Regions from separate parts of the Homo sapiens genome. Here regions 2, 3, 4 and 5 are each linked to region 1. Evidence: promoter capture Hi-C in 16 types of primary human blood cells and fetal thymus (Javierre and others, 2016). All regions are on one chromosome and are shown on one strand. The core of a region is centred on a gene start or on the middle of the fragment in contact, and the rest is flanking DNA. Distances in the headings are between cores, read along the strand shown. Region 1 holds the start of IGSF3 (immunoglobulin superfamily member 3). Region 2 overlaps TTF2 (transcription termination factor 2). Region 3 overlaps TTF2 (transcription termination factor 2). Region 4 overlaps CD101-AS1 (CD101 antisense RNA 1). Region 5 overlaps CD101-AS1 (CD101 antisense RNA 1).

What was found. The method cuts DNA at HindIII sites, captures the fragments that hold promoters and counts their contacts. A CHiCAGO score of 5 or more calls a contact.
Region 2: a contact is called between a fragment that was not itself captured here and the fragment with the promoter of IGSF3 in region 1, in 2 of 17 cell types (fetal thymus and naive CD4 T cells). The highest score is 5.9, in fetal thymus.
Region 3: a contact is called between a fragment that was not itself captured here and the fragment with the promoter of IGSF3 in region 1, in 2 of 17 cell types (activated CD4 T cells and total CD8 T cells). The highest score is 6.7, in activated CD4 T cells.
Region 4: a fragment that was not itself captured here is called in contact with the fragment with the promoter of IGSF3 in region 1 in 9 of 17 cell types (megakaryocytes, M2 macrophages, fetal thymus and 6 more); the score reaches 11.9 in megakaryocytes.
Region 5: a contact is called between a fragment that was not itself captured here and the fragment with the promoter of IGSF3 in region 1, in 1 of 17 cell types (M2 macrophages). The highest score is 5.4, in M2 macrophages.

The regions. Positions count from the first base shown.
Region 1 is chr1:116,666,483-116,669,297 of GRCh38, reverse strand. It overlaps IGSF3 (immunoglobulin superfamily member 3), which reads left to right and starts at 1,565. Exons shown (of 11, transcript NM_001007237.3): 1 at 1,565-1,680; 2 at 2,342-2,815. RefSeq lists a silencer at 1,331-1,720. The HindIII fragment of the contact is 3,697 bases long and covers 1-2,815 here.
Region 2 is chr1:117,099,061-117,101,875 of GRCh38, reverse strand. TTF2 (transcription termination factor 2) reads right to left here. Exons shown (of 23, transcript NM_003594.4): 23 at 1-496. The coding sequence ends at 352. Among named protein-coding and RNA genes, the nearest start is that of MIR942, 5.8 kb to the right of the region's middle. The HindIII fragment of the contact is 2,750 bases long and covers 41-2,790 here.
Region 3 is chr1:117,081,911-117,084,725 of GRCh38, reverse strand. TTF2 (transcription termination factor 2) reads right to left here. Exons shown (of 23, transcript NM_003594.4): 10 at 2,779-2,815; 11 at 558-708. Among named protein-coding and RNA genes, the nearest start is that of MIR942, 11 kb to the left of the region's middle. The HindIII fragment of the contact is 4,974 bases long and covers 1-2,815 here.
Region 4 is chr1:117,053,282-117,056,096 of GRCh38, reverse strand. All of the region lies in intron 1 of CD101-AS1 (CD101 antisense RNA 1), which reads left to right. Among named protein-coding and RNA genes, the nearest start is that of CD101-AS1, 4.8 kb to the left of the region's middle. The HindIII fragment of the contact is 6,290 bases long and covers 1-2,815 here.
Region 5 is chr1:117,037,052-117,039,866 of GRCh38, reverse strand. The region is part of intron 2 of CD101-AS1 (CD101 antisense RNA 1); the gene reads left to right. Among named protein-coding and RNA genes, the nearest start is that of CD101-AS1, 21 kb to the left of the region's middle. The HindIII fragment of the contact is 4,956 bases long and covers 1-2,815 here.

The DNA.
Region 1 (2,815 bases), core at 316-2,815:
AACACACAAGGAAAGATTCCTGGTTGGGCACAGTAGCTCATGCCTGTAATCTCTGCACTTTGGGAGGCTGAGGCGGGCAGATCACCAGGTCAGGAGTTCAACACCAGGCTGCCCAACATGGTGAAACACTGTCTCTACTAAAAGTACAAAAATTATCCGGGTGTGGTGGTGCACGCCTGTAGTCCCAGTGACTCAGGAGGCTGAGGCAGGAGAATCACTTGAACCCGGGAGGTGGAGGTTGCAGTGAGACAAGATTACACCACTGCATTCCAGCCTGGGTCACAGAGTGAGAACCTGTCTCTTAAAATAAAATGAAAAATAAAACGTATATCTGATAACCATAGTCCCTTACTCAACACCTTCAGTGGCTTCCCAATGGTCCCAACCCCTTAACACACCATACAATGCCCTCTAGGTTCTGGCACTCGATTTCTTCTCAGCTCATTTCTTGTCACTTCTCTCCTACAGTCAAGTTTGGGCCCAGCAGACTGTCCTGGTCCTCTAACTGGGCTCCTTTCTGGGCCTGCAGAGGTGCTGTTTCTTCAGTCTGCGATTCCTTACCTCCCCTCTGTCTCTTCCTCTGCTGCTGCCTTCTGTTCTTTGGCATTCAACCGAGTTTTCCTTTCCTCTGAGAAGCCTGGGACCTACCCCGACCAAAGCTCCCTCCTCCTTGCCCCTCCCCCAATAACACAGGGTTGGGGTCTCTGCATTTGCTTCCTCAACACTGTACTTTTCTTGTCATGTCTATTTTATGGTCTGTGTCCCCACTAGACTGCAAGTTGCATGAGGGCAGGGCGGTCTATTCTGCTTTGGTCGCCTCGTGACGGTGTCTACCCAGCAAGTTGTGTGTGTTGGGTAAGTAGTGAGAAAACGAAAAAGCACTTGCTTTACAGGGCGGTTGGTCATAAAATAATAATAGCTTATATTTACTGACCACTTGTGATGTATCAGGCACCATTCTAAATGCTTTACAAGTATGTCACAGATTTCTCCCATAACCCTCTTAAGTAAGGGTTATTTCCTCCACATAGCAGATGGGGAAATTGAGGCACAGAGAGGTTAAGTAACTTGCCAAGGGCCACAGCGAGGAAGTGGAGGAACCGGCGTTAGAACCCAGGCTGTTTCCAGAGTCCAAATTCTATCCAAGAGTGAAGTGCAATATGGGGTTCCACTTCGTGAACAGATTCAAGTCTCCAAAGGGCTTTGTTTTTGTTTCCAGGAGGAAGGACGAGCTTCTGTGCCGCCGGCTTCCCAGGTTATGGGTGGCCAGCTGGGCTTTGGGAAGGGCCTGTACATCTCGCCGGCGGCCCCGGAGTCTGGGTGTGAAGCCCTGATTAACTTGCCGGGCTGCTCGGCCCACACGCCAGCCCTGCCCAGGTCCTCCGGTGCCCCGGGCCACCCTCATGCCCCCGCCAGGCCCGGGGCCGGGACTCGCGTCTCCAGGGGCGGGGCCGGGGGCGGGGCCGGGCCTCTCTTCGAGGCCGCCGCCCTGGCCCCGCGCTCGCCTCGCCGAGTGCGGCGGGCCGGGCTGGAGCTGGAGGGGCGGGGACTCGGGAGGGGCCGCAGCGCGGCTGCTGGTGCCGTTGCGGGAGAAGAGGAAGCGGCGCGTCCCCTGAGGCGTGCGCCTGGATGGACTGAAGGACGGTCCGACGCGCGCGGAGGGAGAGGGCCAGGGGCGAGGTCAGGCTCGGCGGGGGCGCGGGCGGCGCCCGGAGGGGGCCCCGGGGAGGGAGGCGGGGAGGCGTGGAGCGGGGAGCGGGGAGCGGGGAGTGGGGAGCGGGCCCGCGCCGGCTGAGCTCCGGGTCGGGCCCGAGACCCCTCCCCTGGCTGGGCGGGCGCGCTGCGAGCGCGCTCCGGCAGCTGAAAGCGGAGCTCCGGACTCCCTTCTTCCCCGGTTTCTTTTCTTTCCAATCAGCGAGATATAAACACCCTGCAAGGTAAAACAATAGCGGGGCCACCTGGGACGCGTCGCGCGCAGAGCTCCCACGGTTGGGGCGGGGGCCGGGAGTCGCGGCCCCACCGCGGAGCCCCTTCCCGATTTGCCCTGGCGGAGGGTGGGGCTACCTGCGGCGCCCGGGCTCGGTAGGAGGTGACGGGAATTCCCAGGAGTGAAGCATTTGGTGGAAGTATTTCAGGAACAATCGGGCTTCCCACTGTTGCCCTGCTCTGGGCAGGGAAACTGAGGCGGAGGGAAAGACAGAGACTTGCCCAAGGTCAGAATGCAGAGGTTGACTGTCCTGGTCCAGGAACCGGACCCAGGTGTCCGGACCAGCTCAGCGCTCAGCCCCAGTGGGTTTTGCAGCTTTGCCTTTGATAAAAATCTCTGTTGTGTTTGTTTTAGAAATCTGCTCGCGCTGGGGTACCGCTTCAGGGCTGCCGAACGCCAACTTGCTTCGTGTGCCCTAGGCAGGCGTGGGGCAGGTGGCGCCTCCGTGACCTACCACCATGGATGGAAACGGACTTTTTGGTGAAGAAACCCAAACGGTTGATGCCAGGCAGGGTGATTTGGCCGTCAAAGGTTTTGACGAAACCTGCCCTGTTCTCTCTGGGGAATCCGAATGAGGGAGATCACAGACACCTTCACTGAGAAGCCAAGGACATTTCTGTATAATCAGTGGATGAAAGGATTTTCTCAGACCCTTTTTTCCGTGCTTCTGGAGGATTAATCCACTACAGTCTGCAATTTCAGTGGAAACTGCAAGGCACACGATGTGGCAGGAGCCGGGAGCGACTTCCGAATTGTTGTGGACCCTTCCTGTAGCATAGGGGAGTTTTCACACTTGCCTCCACTCCTCCCCTTCCCCCCAACTCCCTC
Region 2 (2,815 bases), core at 166-2,665, 430 kb before region 1:
GCCACCACACCTGGCCCGCTTTTTGAACTTTACTGAAGCTTATATACAATTCTGCCAGAGTTGTTTTCCAAAATCATCCAACTCTAAAACATATTCTTTTATCTAAAAAAATCAATTGGTTTCCATACCACTCATTAAATAAATTATTAACATAATTGGTTAACTAATTGGTTAACACAACCCCTCCTCAATTCTGGGGATAAGATTATGCCTCATTTTGAGGAAGGTGAAAGGCTTGACGGTGAAATTGAAATGCAAAGAACAGAGTTCAAGGCTCATGGTTAGGTTGTTATTCCCAGATCCTAATACAAACCAGCAATGGTGCTATTCTGAGCCCTTATCCACAGGAGGTTAGATGCCAAAAAGGACTCTGAGGTCAGCCAAGGTGAGCTTGGTGACAGATTCTCCAGACCCTGATAGAACTTGTTTGGCCAAATCTTTCTTTTTTTCTTGGAGCTGTAAGATCTTTTCTTCTACTGTTCCCTCACAAACAAATCTAAAAAACAAAAACAAAAAATAAGCAAACTATCAAAAACCCTAAGCAGCACATCTAATAATATATTCAAACTTTTATTATGCTTTCATTTTTAATGAGATTTCTTCCTTTAAGTCTTCTTAGGTCCAGTTAAGAACCCTGTCTGAGGAATCCAAACAACCTTGACTAGATATATATCCCTTTAAAAGGATGTGACCCACATTGGCATTTTAATACTTTCTGAAGCTAAGGTAATTGAAACAAACTCAAAATAAGCAAAAGATATCCCAATCCAAAAAAGTATAGAGATCCAGCTTTTACCCAAAAAGTTCTACCTTGGTAAGTCCATAAGGCCTCAAAGGTTATCAAATTTCTGCTAGTTTAAGTAGAGTATTTCTTAGTGAATTCACAATAAAAACAGGGTTTTCAAACCAAGTAAATGGCACTGTTGTCATTCATTCACTCATTCAAAAGTATTGATTAAGCACTCACTACACTATGCTAGGTGTGGGGATGGAGAGATGAATATAGTCTTGCTCCAAAGCAGAACAAAAGCGAGACAAACATGAAAATAAACAATAATATGACCTGGTAAGTGCTATAATGGAAGTATGTGCCGTGTGCAAAAGGAGGAGAAGGAAATGTGTCCAGGGTAGTCAGGGAGGGCCCCATTAAACAGTTAACTCTTAATATGAGACTTGTATGTTGGGCAAGGGTTTGCCAGAAAGAGCAGTGAGGAGAGCACCCCAGGGAATGGGAACACGTGCAAAACCATGGCTGAGTTTCAGAGCATGGTGTATTGGAGGAAGTTCACATTGACCATGTTGTCCACAATGGCAAAAGCTCAAGAGGCTGGTAGGGCCAGATCACGGGTGGTGGTGCATGTCATGCTAAGACATTTTGATTTGATCCTATAGGAGGTGAGAGCTACTGAAGAATATGAGAAGTGGATGACACAATCAGATGGATTAGCTAGGAAGAGCCCTTCGGTGGTGATGGAGAGAACAGGATTCAGCAGAGTGGGAAGGGGGGACCTGGCAGTGGGCATGGGAAGGAAGAAATGGTTATCAGAAACATTTAGAAAATATAACTAAAGGACTTGGTAAGTGGAAAAGCGAGAAAGGTAGGAGTCTAGTTCTGGCTAGATAATTAGATAAAGAGTGATACTATTCACAAAGACAATGACTACAGAAGAATAGCAGATTTGAGATAATAGGAAGAGAAAATCAATTTCTATTTGTAACATTTGAGTACCTGAAACATGTAATTATACTTGCTACATAGTGGGTGCTCAAAAGGTATGTTTTATGGGCTGAATGCTCAAAAGAACAATGAATAAAAGAAGGAATAACAGATGAGTATGTGGACACTCGGATTCAGATATTTAGCAGGGACTGCGATAGGTCTGAAGTTTAGGAGACCTTGGAACTAAAGATACAAATTTTGGACTTACTGGAGTGCACAGAATTTGTGAAGGAAGGAATGTACAGAATGAGCAGAGAAGAGAGCATAGGAAGACTATCATAATCACTATATTTAGCAAAGTCTGGAAGTCATTGGTGCCCCTTAACAAGAGCAATTTCAGTGCAGCAACAGGAGTAAAAGCCAGTTTGTAAAGGCTGAGGAATGAATGGGAAGTAATCAAGTAAAGATAGGCAGTGATTCCTAATTCTTCAGGAAACCTGGTCATGAAAAGGAAGGCAAAAAAGAGGGCCATTGTGAGAGGGGATTGGCAGCATTAAGGCAGGTTTTGTTGTTTTTAAAGACAAGGGGGTCCAAAACAGAGGACATTTTGCAAAATAACTGGCTCATGCTCATCAAAATGTCAATGTCATAAAACACAAAGACTGGGTACTGTTCCAGATCAAAGGAGACAAACTTATGAAAACTGCGTGCTACCAGGATCTGGGATTCTTTTTTGCTGTGAAGGACATCACTGAGACAAGTGAGATTGAAAAGATCTGTAGATCAGATAATAGTGTTTTATTAATTTTAATAACCTGATTTTGATGATTTTATTGGGGTTACGTAAGAGAATTCCCTTAATTTTAAGAAATGTACACTTAAGTACTTAGGGACAAAGGAGCATCAGGTCTACAACTTGTTCTCAAGTGGTCCAGAAAAATGTTTCTACCCACATGCACACCATAATATATGGGAACTTTTTGGTACTATTCTTGTACGTTTTCTGTATGTCTGAAATTATGTCAAAATAAAAGTTAAAAAGAAAAATAAAAGATAGGAGCATCCTTTCATGGACTGCCCTCACCATATACACAAATTTGCTCTTCTTTTGCAGTGACCAACTTCAAGCTTACCCCAAATTGCTCGTTTTTCTCC
Region 3 (2,815 bases), core at 182-2,681, 420 kb before region 1:
GACTAAGATTGCCATGTGGGGAAGCATTTTCTTCCCTCCTTCCTGAGCATCCCTCTTCAAGAATTTATAGTTAACTCTAATCGTCCTAAATTATTGAGTCTAAAGCATCTTAGATGGTTCATATATTAAAAAGTCATAAAAATATAATCAACCTATAGCAACTAATCATTAGCATTCTATCAAGATGCTCTGTAGAACTGGGCTGGTTCCATTCACACTATGTACACCTGGAATCAGAACTCCAGCAGCCATGAGGGCCTTGCGACACATCTCCTTGACTAGGGGAATGCTGCTGTCACCTGAATGGCAGCTCCGGCATCTCAGGCCTCCTCACAGGGCAGCTTTCATTGAGGACAATGACAAGGACACAGCAAAAGATCACCAGTAGACCTCAGGATACAACGCAAAGGCTGTATGGTGACGAGACTAAAGATCTGTCTTTGGCTTTCACAAATACGCGTCCTGATTAAGTGAAATCTCAGGGATGGGAGCAAAGGCCCGTGGGCCCTTGGGCAGAGGTGCTGAACGCCCCCACAACTGCGTATTCCTGCACTTACACTCTGGCACGTGAATCCCGGTTTGGCCCATGGTAGAGATAGACTCTTAGTTTGTTGCTGTTCACCCGTTTCTCCACCTCATTTTTCCAATGATGGATCAGGGAGGCAGGACAGATGATTAGTGTTCCATGGGAAGTAAAGTCACAAGAGTCTTGAGAAGGGAAAAAAATCAGTGCCTAGTTACATTCACCAAATGGCTTTTAACTTTTCTTTTTTAATATATGGAGACACGGTCTTGCTGTGTTACCCAGGCTGTCTCAAACTCCTAGGCTCAAGTGATCCTCCTGCCTTAGCCTCCCACAGTGGAATTACAGGTGTGAGTCATCGTGTTTGACCGGCCTTTAACTTAAAGGCATTACCTCTTCCTCTTGACTGACTTTACTCCTTCAATTAATATGTTTAACCATTGCTCTTATTTCTATACAGAGCCTATAGTGAAGTAGGAAATGGAAGAAATGGTCTTTTAAACTGAAACACTTGATTACTTATTTTCTCCACTAAAAGTACAGGCAGAAAGAGAGGCTAAACAGGGGGAGGAAAGTGGGTGGCACATGACCTCAGTGTGAAAAAGCAATGTGCTTTCACAGAGTGGCTGGAAGTGAAAGCTGGATCATTTCCTAACTCCTCTTGAGTTGATTCATTATAGAGGCGTATGGAGTATTGTTATACTTTCTGAAAAGCATAACTTAATGTACTTCTACCTTAAAATTAAGTACAGAAACCTTTTTTAAAAAATAAGCAAACATTGGTTTGGAACCAATTAGTGATGGTTTGTTTATACCATGGCCCCTCATCTCTGCGTGTGTGTGCCTGTGCTACTTACACATACTGCTAGTACACACAAAGGGATATAGGACCCAGCTGCAACAGTGCTCATTAGAGGCCCTGAGAGCAGATGCCACAGATTTTTTTTTTTTTTTTTTTTTTGAGACGGAGTCTCGCTCTGTCACCCAGGCTGGAGTGCAGTGGCACGATCTCGGCTCACTGCAAGCTCTGCCTCCCAGGTTCATGCCATTCTCCTGCCTCAGCCTCCTGAGTAGCTGGGACTACAGGCGCCTGCCACCATGCTTGGCTAATTTTTTGTATTTTTAGTAGAGACGGGGTTTCACCGTATTAGTCAGGATGGTCTCGGTCTCCTGACCTTGTTATCCGCCCACCTCAGCCTCCCAAAGTGCTGGGATTACAGGCGTGAGCCACCATGCCCGGCCCACAGATTTTTAATCTATCTAAGCAACTGAGAGCTGTACTTGAATACATGGCAACTTACATGTAGTGTTGTCTATACATAACATATTCAATCTTTAAAGTACTTATAAAGTTATTACTTTTTATTTAATTTTTTTTAAGAGACAGTGTCTTGCTTTCTTGCCCAGTTGGCCTCAAGCTCCCAGGCTCAAGTGATTCTCCTGCCTCTCCTCCCTCAATTGGGACTACAGGTGCATACCACTGTGCCTGGCTAAAGTTACTACATTTTAAAAACATATGTTAAGATAGAAAGTGTCTATAATCTAGGAACTTCTAGAATTTCAGAAACATGGAAAATAGCTTCCACTATAGTGACTAAAATGTGAATTTGTGACAGATCTTCCTTTAAAAAAATTAATTTGAATCTACCCTGTAGTTATTTCCCCAATATTTCCAAAAATAATAATTATTGGCCAGGCATGGTGGGTCACACCTATAATCCCAGCACTTTGGAAGGCTGAGGCAGGATGATTGCTTGAGCCCAGTTGTTTGAGACCAGCCAGGCAACATGGTGAGATCCTATCTCTACAAAAAAATTAAAAAATTAGCTGGGTGTGGTGGTGCAAACTTGTGGTCCCAGCTACTTGGGAGGCTGAGGTGGGAGGATCGCTTGAGCCAAGGAGGTTTAGGCTGCAGTAAGCTGTGTTCATGCACTGCACTCCAGCCTGAGCAACAGAGCGAGACCCTGTCTCAAAAAATAAGAATTATTATTATGCTTAAATTAAGTGTTCTAGAGCCTCAGCTTTCTCCATAAAATTCTGCCTAGTTTATAGGCAAATTTATACGGAAAAAATGATCACTTATAATTAGCATACTCAGCATCAGAAATGATATGATAGGTGAGTAATCTAATACTGGTTTTCCAGTAGAGTAATTAAATATGACCAAAGGTGTCCTTTTTTAGCTGAAGACGTTCCCCTCTTGGGTGGCTCAAATGACGTAGGGAATGGCAGGCTATTAAGGCACTTCTGTCTACCATCTTTGGAGAGCCACGTCAAAGCTGTGCTTTTCTC
Region 4 (2,815 bases), core at 153-2,652, 390 kb before region 1:
GGCTCAAAGTCACAAAGCTGACAGCAGCCAATCAGGGACTAAAGGCCATTTTTCAGAACTTTCAATCCAGTTCTTGCCACTATAGTATTTTTTCTTCTTCTTCTTCTTCTTTTTTTTTTTGAGACGGAGTCTCGCTCTGTCGCCCAGGCTGGAGTGCAGTGGCGTGATCTCGGCTCACTGCAACCTCCACTTCCCAGGTTTAAGCAATTCTCCTGCCTCAGCCTCCCAAGTAGCTGGGATTACAGGCACCCACCACCACGCCCAGCAATTTTGTGTATTTTTAGTAGAGATGGGGTTTCGCCATGTTGGCCAGGCTGGTCTCGAACTCCTGAGACCTCAGGTGATCCACCTGCCTCGGCCTCCCAAAGTGCTGGGATTACAGGCCTGAGCCACTGCGCCCAGCCTATAGTATTTTTATAAAGCATAAATTATTCAGCAATGCATTCAGATATTTAACCCACACATCGGTAAGTGTTTAGGTATTTGCTGTGGTGTAGAGACATGGCTCAACAAATCCAAGACAAAAACCAAAAACCCAAGTCCTGCCATTTTATAAATGACCACTAGGTAGCAGCCTAGTAACATAAAAACCAAACTGAGGCCCACCCTCCTCTGTTTCATTCTTTTTGTTTGAAGATATATAATGGTAATTCAATTTCATTTCATTTCATTTTGTGCCTTTCAAACATATGACTGTTTTCAACTTGTCCTTTGACATAGGCTCGATCAGGATGATACTATAGTGAGAACAAATGTGGTTATAATTTGTAAAGCCAAGAGACTTTACAAATTATTTTGTTATACCAATATTTTTTCAGTACTAGATTCCAAATTTCACTGTTCTTAAAATATTATTCCAAAAGTGGTTCAATGCAGGCTCTTTATCTTCTTCTTTTTTTTTTTTTTTTTTTTTGGTAAATGTACAGGTATTTTTTTCAGTTGGAGTCTTGTCTGTTACCCAGGCTGGAGTGGAGTGCAATGGTAGGATCTTGGCTCACTGCAACCTCCGCCTCCTGGGTTCAAGTGATTCTCCTGCCTCAGCCTCCTGAGTAGCTGGGATTATAGGCTTGTGCCACCACGCTCAGCTAATTTTTGTATTTTTAGTAGAGATGGGGTTTCACCATGTTGTCCAGGCTGGTCTTGAACTCCTGAACTCAGGTGATCCACTCGCCTCGACCCCCCAAAGTGCTGGGATTACAGGCTTGAGCCATCGCGCCCGGCCACAATTCTTTTTTTTTTTTTTTTGAGACAGAGTCTCACTCTGTTGCCAGGCTGGAGTACAGTGGCATGATCTTGGCTCACTGTAACCTCTGCCTCCTGGGTTCAAGTGACTCTCCTGCCTCAGCCTCCCGAGTAGCTGGGATTACAGGTGCCCGCCACCACGCCTGGCCAATTTTTGTATTTTTAGTAGAGATGGGGTTTCACCCTGTTGGCCAGGCTGGTCTCGAACTCCTGAACTCAGGTGATCCACCCGCCTCGGCCTCCCAAAGTGCTGGGATTACAGGCATGAGCCATCACACCTGGCCCACAATTCATTGTTTAAGTAAATTTATAAAGTTGTGCCATCACCACCAGAATCCAGTTTTAAAACATTTCTATCACTCAAAAACTTTCCTCAAAGCTGTGTGCAGTCAATCCCAACTGCCACCCCCAGCTAGTCCCAAGGCAACCTCTGATATGCTTTCTGTCTTTATAAGTTTGCCTTTTCTGGACATTTCATATAATGGAGTCATGTAATATGTAGTCTCTTGCCTCTGTCTTCTTTCACTTACATAATGCTTGTGAGGTTTACCCATGTTGCACATGTATCAGTATTTCACTCCTTTTTATTGCTGAGTAATATTCCATTGTGTTCATTCACCAGTTGGTGGACATTTGGATCATTTTCCCTTTGGAATTATTAGGAATAATATTGCTATGAACATTAATGTTAAAGTCTGTTTTATTGTTTTTGTTTTTGTTTTTTTGTTTTTTGTTGTTGTTGTTTTTGAGATGGAGTCTTGCTCTGTCACCCAAGCTGGAGTGCAGTGGCATGATCTTGGCTCACTGCAACCTCCAGCTCCCAGGTTCAAGCAATTCTCCTGCCTCAGCCTCCCGAGTAGCTGGGATTATAGGCTCGAGCCACCACGTAAGCTAATTTTTATATTTTTAGTAGGGACAGGGTTTCACCATGTTGGCCAAGCTGGTCTCAAACTCCTGACCTCAGGTAATCTATCTGCCTCAGCCTCCCTAAGTACTGGGATTACAGGCATGAGCCACCGCACCCGGCCTAACGTTAAAGTCTTTATATGAACATTTGTTCTCATTTCTCTTGGGCAGATAAACCTGTGAGTGGAATTGCTAGTTCATATGGTTAGTTTGTTTAACTTTTTAAGAAATTGCCAAACCACTTTCCAAAGTGGCTATACCATTTTATATTTCCACCAGCAACGTATGAGGGTTCCCAGTTCTTCATGTCCTCAACAATGCTTGTTATTGCGTGCCTTTTTTAGTAGGTATGAAGTGGTATCTGACTTTTGTTTGAATTTTGATTTTTCTATTGATGTGGCACTCTTTTTCGTGTGCTTTTTAGCCATCATCTTCCTCTTTTTAAATGGTCTTGAAAGTCTTTTTCCTTTAACGTTTGTATGGAACTTAAACCTAAGTTAAAATGACATTAATTGTTATTAATACAAAGACATAAAAAGACATAGTAATCATTTGTATAATGTTAAGTAACAAACATTATACAATGTACTATGTACTATGAGTATAGTCATGTCAATTTGTTTTTTTTTTTTTTTTTGGAGACAGGGTCTCACTCAGCCCCTCAGGC
Region 5 (2,815 bases), core at 105-2,604, 370 kb before region 1:
ACAATGTGACCTTATAGGAGTAATAAATTTGGATTTTCCTATGCTGGTTATTTATACCATAGAAACTTCTTAATCACTGTCCTCATCCAATATAGTCTCTCGTCTCGGTAAATGGCTTAATGTGATAATTATGCTTCAACTCAAAACATCTCTATTTGGCAGTCAGAGCTGGTTCAGAAGGAGCCTTGGATTAAGAGACAATATGGTAGAAACTCCAAATTTCTAACAAGTAAATTAAATGTAAAGGTGAATAAATTTTTTAAAAAATGGAAAGCCAGTTAATATAATGAATGGATGGAACTGTCTCTTATCTCTAAACTTATCAGTAGAAAACTAGGTTAACGAGCATTTATTAGACACAAGAAGAGTCTCATCATGTGTCATTGTGTTTAATATACAGGAGCTACCTCTATGAGCTTGATACTTGAAACTTTCTGATAATTTTTTTCTATACTCAAAATGCTCACAAAATTGGTGTGATAGCCATTACACAAATTAAGAGAGTGAAGATGGTTTTCCAGCTGGCTTCCCTGCCTCACCTTTGTACCACTGCCATCCTCACTCCAACCCCACCTATCATCTATGCTGTTGCTTTTCAATTCTCCTTCCCTACTACATTACATTCACTGGCTCACTATTGTCCACCACATGAAGTCCAAGATATTATCCATGTTCAAGATCTGTTCTTCTGTCCTTCCCCAACCCCAGAATTTTGCTCTAACTACTTTTCCAGATTTATCTCCCATTGCTCCCCTTCATAGATCTGACACTTAACCCAAAGCTATTGTAAGCACTGCACTTTTCATGGGGCTTCCTCTGTCCAGACCTCTGCTTAACCCTTTTCCTGTCAAAATATTTTCTTATTTTTAAAGCCCAGTTCAACTTACATCTTCTTTATGAAGTTGTCTCTGATTTCTAAATGCCTGTAGCACTTTATTAGGAGTAAAAATTAATAGCCAGTTTGACAGAATTCCCACCTGAGCCTACAGGGAATGCAGACTTCTCAGGCTCTGTCTGCCAAGTGGTAGAGCTCCCCAACAGCACAATTGCATAACCTTCCTGCTGGAGGAAAAGAGGACCTGTGATGAGGAGGTTAGTGCAGAGGCTGCTGGGAACAGGCAATGGGAAATGGAGAGAATAGCATGAAGTCTTTCCCAGCCTGGCCGCAGACTTGCTGGTGTCTGGACTCTGGAGAAAGGAGATACTGGGCAAATGCTAATGGAACAGTTTTCACAAGAGAATCTTTAGAGACACGGGTGCAAACAATCTTGAATTTGTATCCTTACAGAAGAGTGTAATGTAAAGACAGAGAAAGAGTCCCTTTTCACTGCTTATCACTGAACACGACTCAGCTTGGCATCTCATGTGCTCTGGCATGCCAGCTGCGGTGGGAGCCCGCAGAGCCCAACGGAGCTGCAGGGAACCACATGGGAATGGACTTGCTTGTGAGCTCATGTGAATTCACAGAATCCGGGCCAGATGTGGTGGTGTGTACTTGTAGACCCAGCTACTTGGGAGGCTCTTGCAGGAGGATTACTTGAGCTCAGGAGCTCAATGCCAGCTTGAGCAATCTAGTGAGACCTCATCTCTTTAAAAAAAAATTTCCAGTTTTGGGAAATCCCCCAGAAATAGCTAAAGGACACTGTAGATGGCCAAGACCCTGTGTAAATATTCTGGGAGGGAAAGCCTGTAGAATTTGGATTATTACTATTGATTACATTTTATTTATGTACACGGACAGGTTAAGTCCTAGAAAAACTTGGGTTAATGCTGACATTCATTTATGACTTGATGTGGTTTTAAAACTTATCTCCATTGATGTATCTGATTTGATCACCATAACAACCACTCAAAGTGGCTATTATTATATCCAGATTTTCCCCCATAGCAATGGATTTGAGCATATTTTTTGTGTTTATTGTGGAAAGAGTGTTTATTGTGGAAAGAGTCCAGGACTTGTCAGCAGACCTAAGTTTGAGCTTTTACTCTTCTGCATATGGCTGGGTGATCCTGGATAAATCCCAACCTCTCTGAGCTATAATTCCTTACCTGTAGGACAGGAATAACAATTCCTTTTGTATAGAGATGCTGTAAAATTCTGAGATAATGAAAAAAATCCTGTACGATTGTAAGAAATTATTATGGCACATGACTTTATACCATTGCATTCATCTTCTGCCATAAATCGGTTTTTTCTATACATCTCAATACAATAAAAATAATTAACAGCAACCATGCCTTAATCATCCCTGTGTCATCTTATCTTGCACAGAGTAGGTACTCAGTATGATGGCGTGAAACGTTGCAGGGTGATAAACTTCCCATCTATAGTGTGAGGCCGGTACAGCGGAGTCAAACTTCAGAATGGCTGGGACTAGATGCCAATCCTGAAAACCTAAGATTATTTATTAGATTAATCAGATATAGAAGAGATTCAGATATAAGAGGTCAAATCAGTTTCCCAGGGACATAATACATGGCTAAGAGAGACAGAACATTAAAGGACAGCAGGGCTGGCAAATGTTTTCTGTAAAGGGCCAGAATAATAAACATTTTAGGCAATGTAGGTCCTATGGTCTCTGTGGCAACTACACAACTTTGCCATTTTTATCGTGAAAGCAGCCACAGACAGTATGTAAGCGAATGGGAGTGACCATATTCCAGTATATTGTATTTTAAAAAACAAACAGATGGTGGGCTGCATTTGGCCCATAGGCCCTGGTTGGTCAACTCCTGAGACAGAGGCTTGTCCTTTTGCCAAGGAAGATTTATAACACAAAAAGCCAAAAGTAAAACCAGGTGGTGGCATGAAATG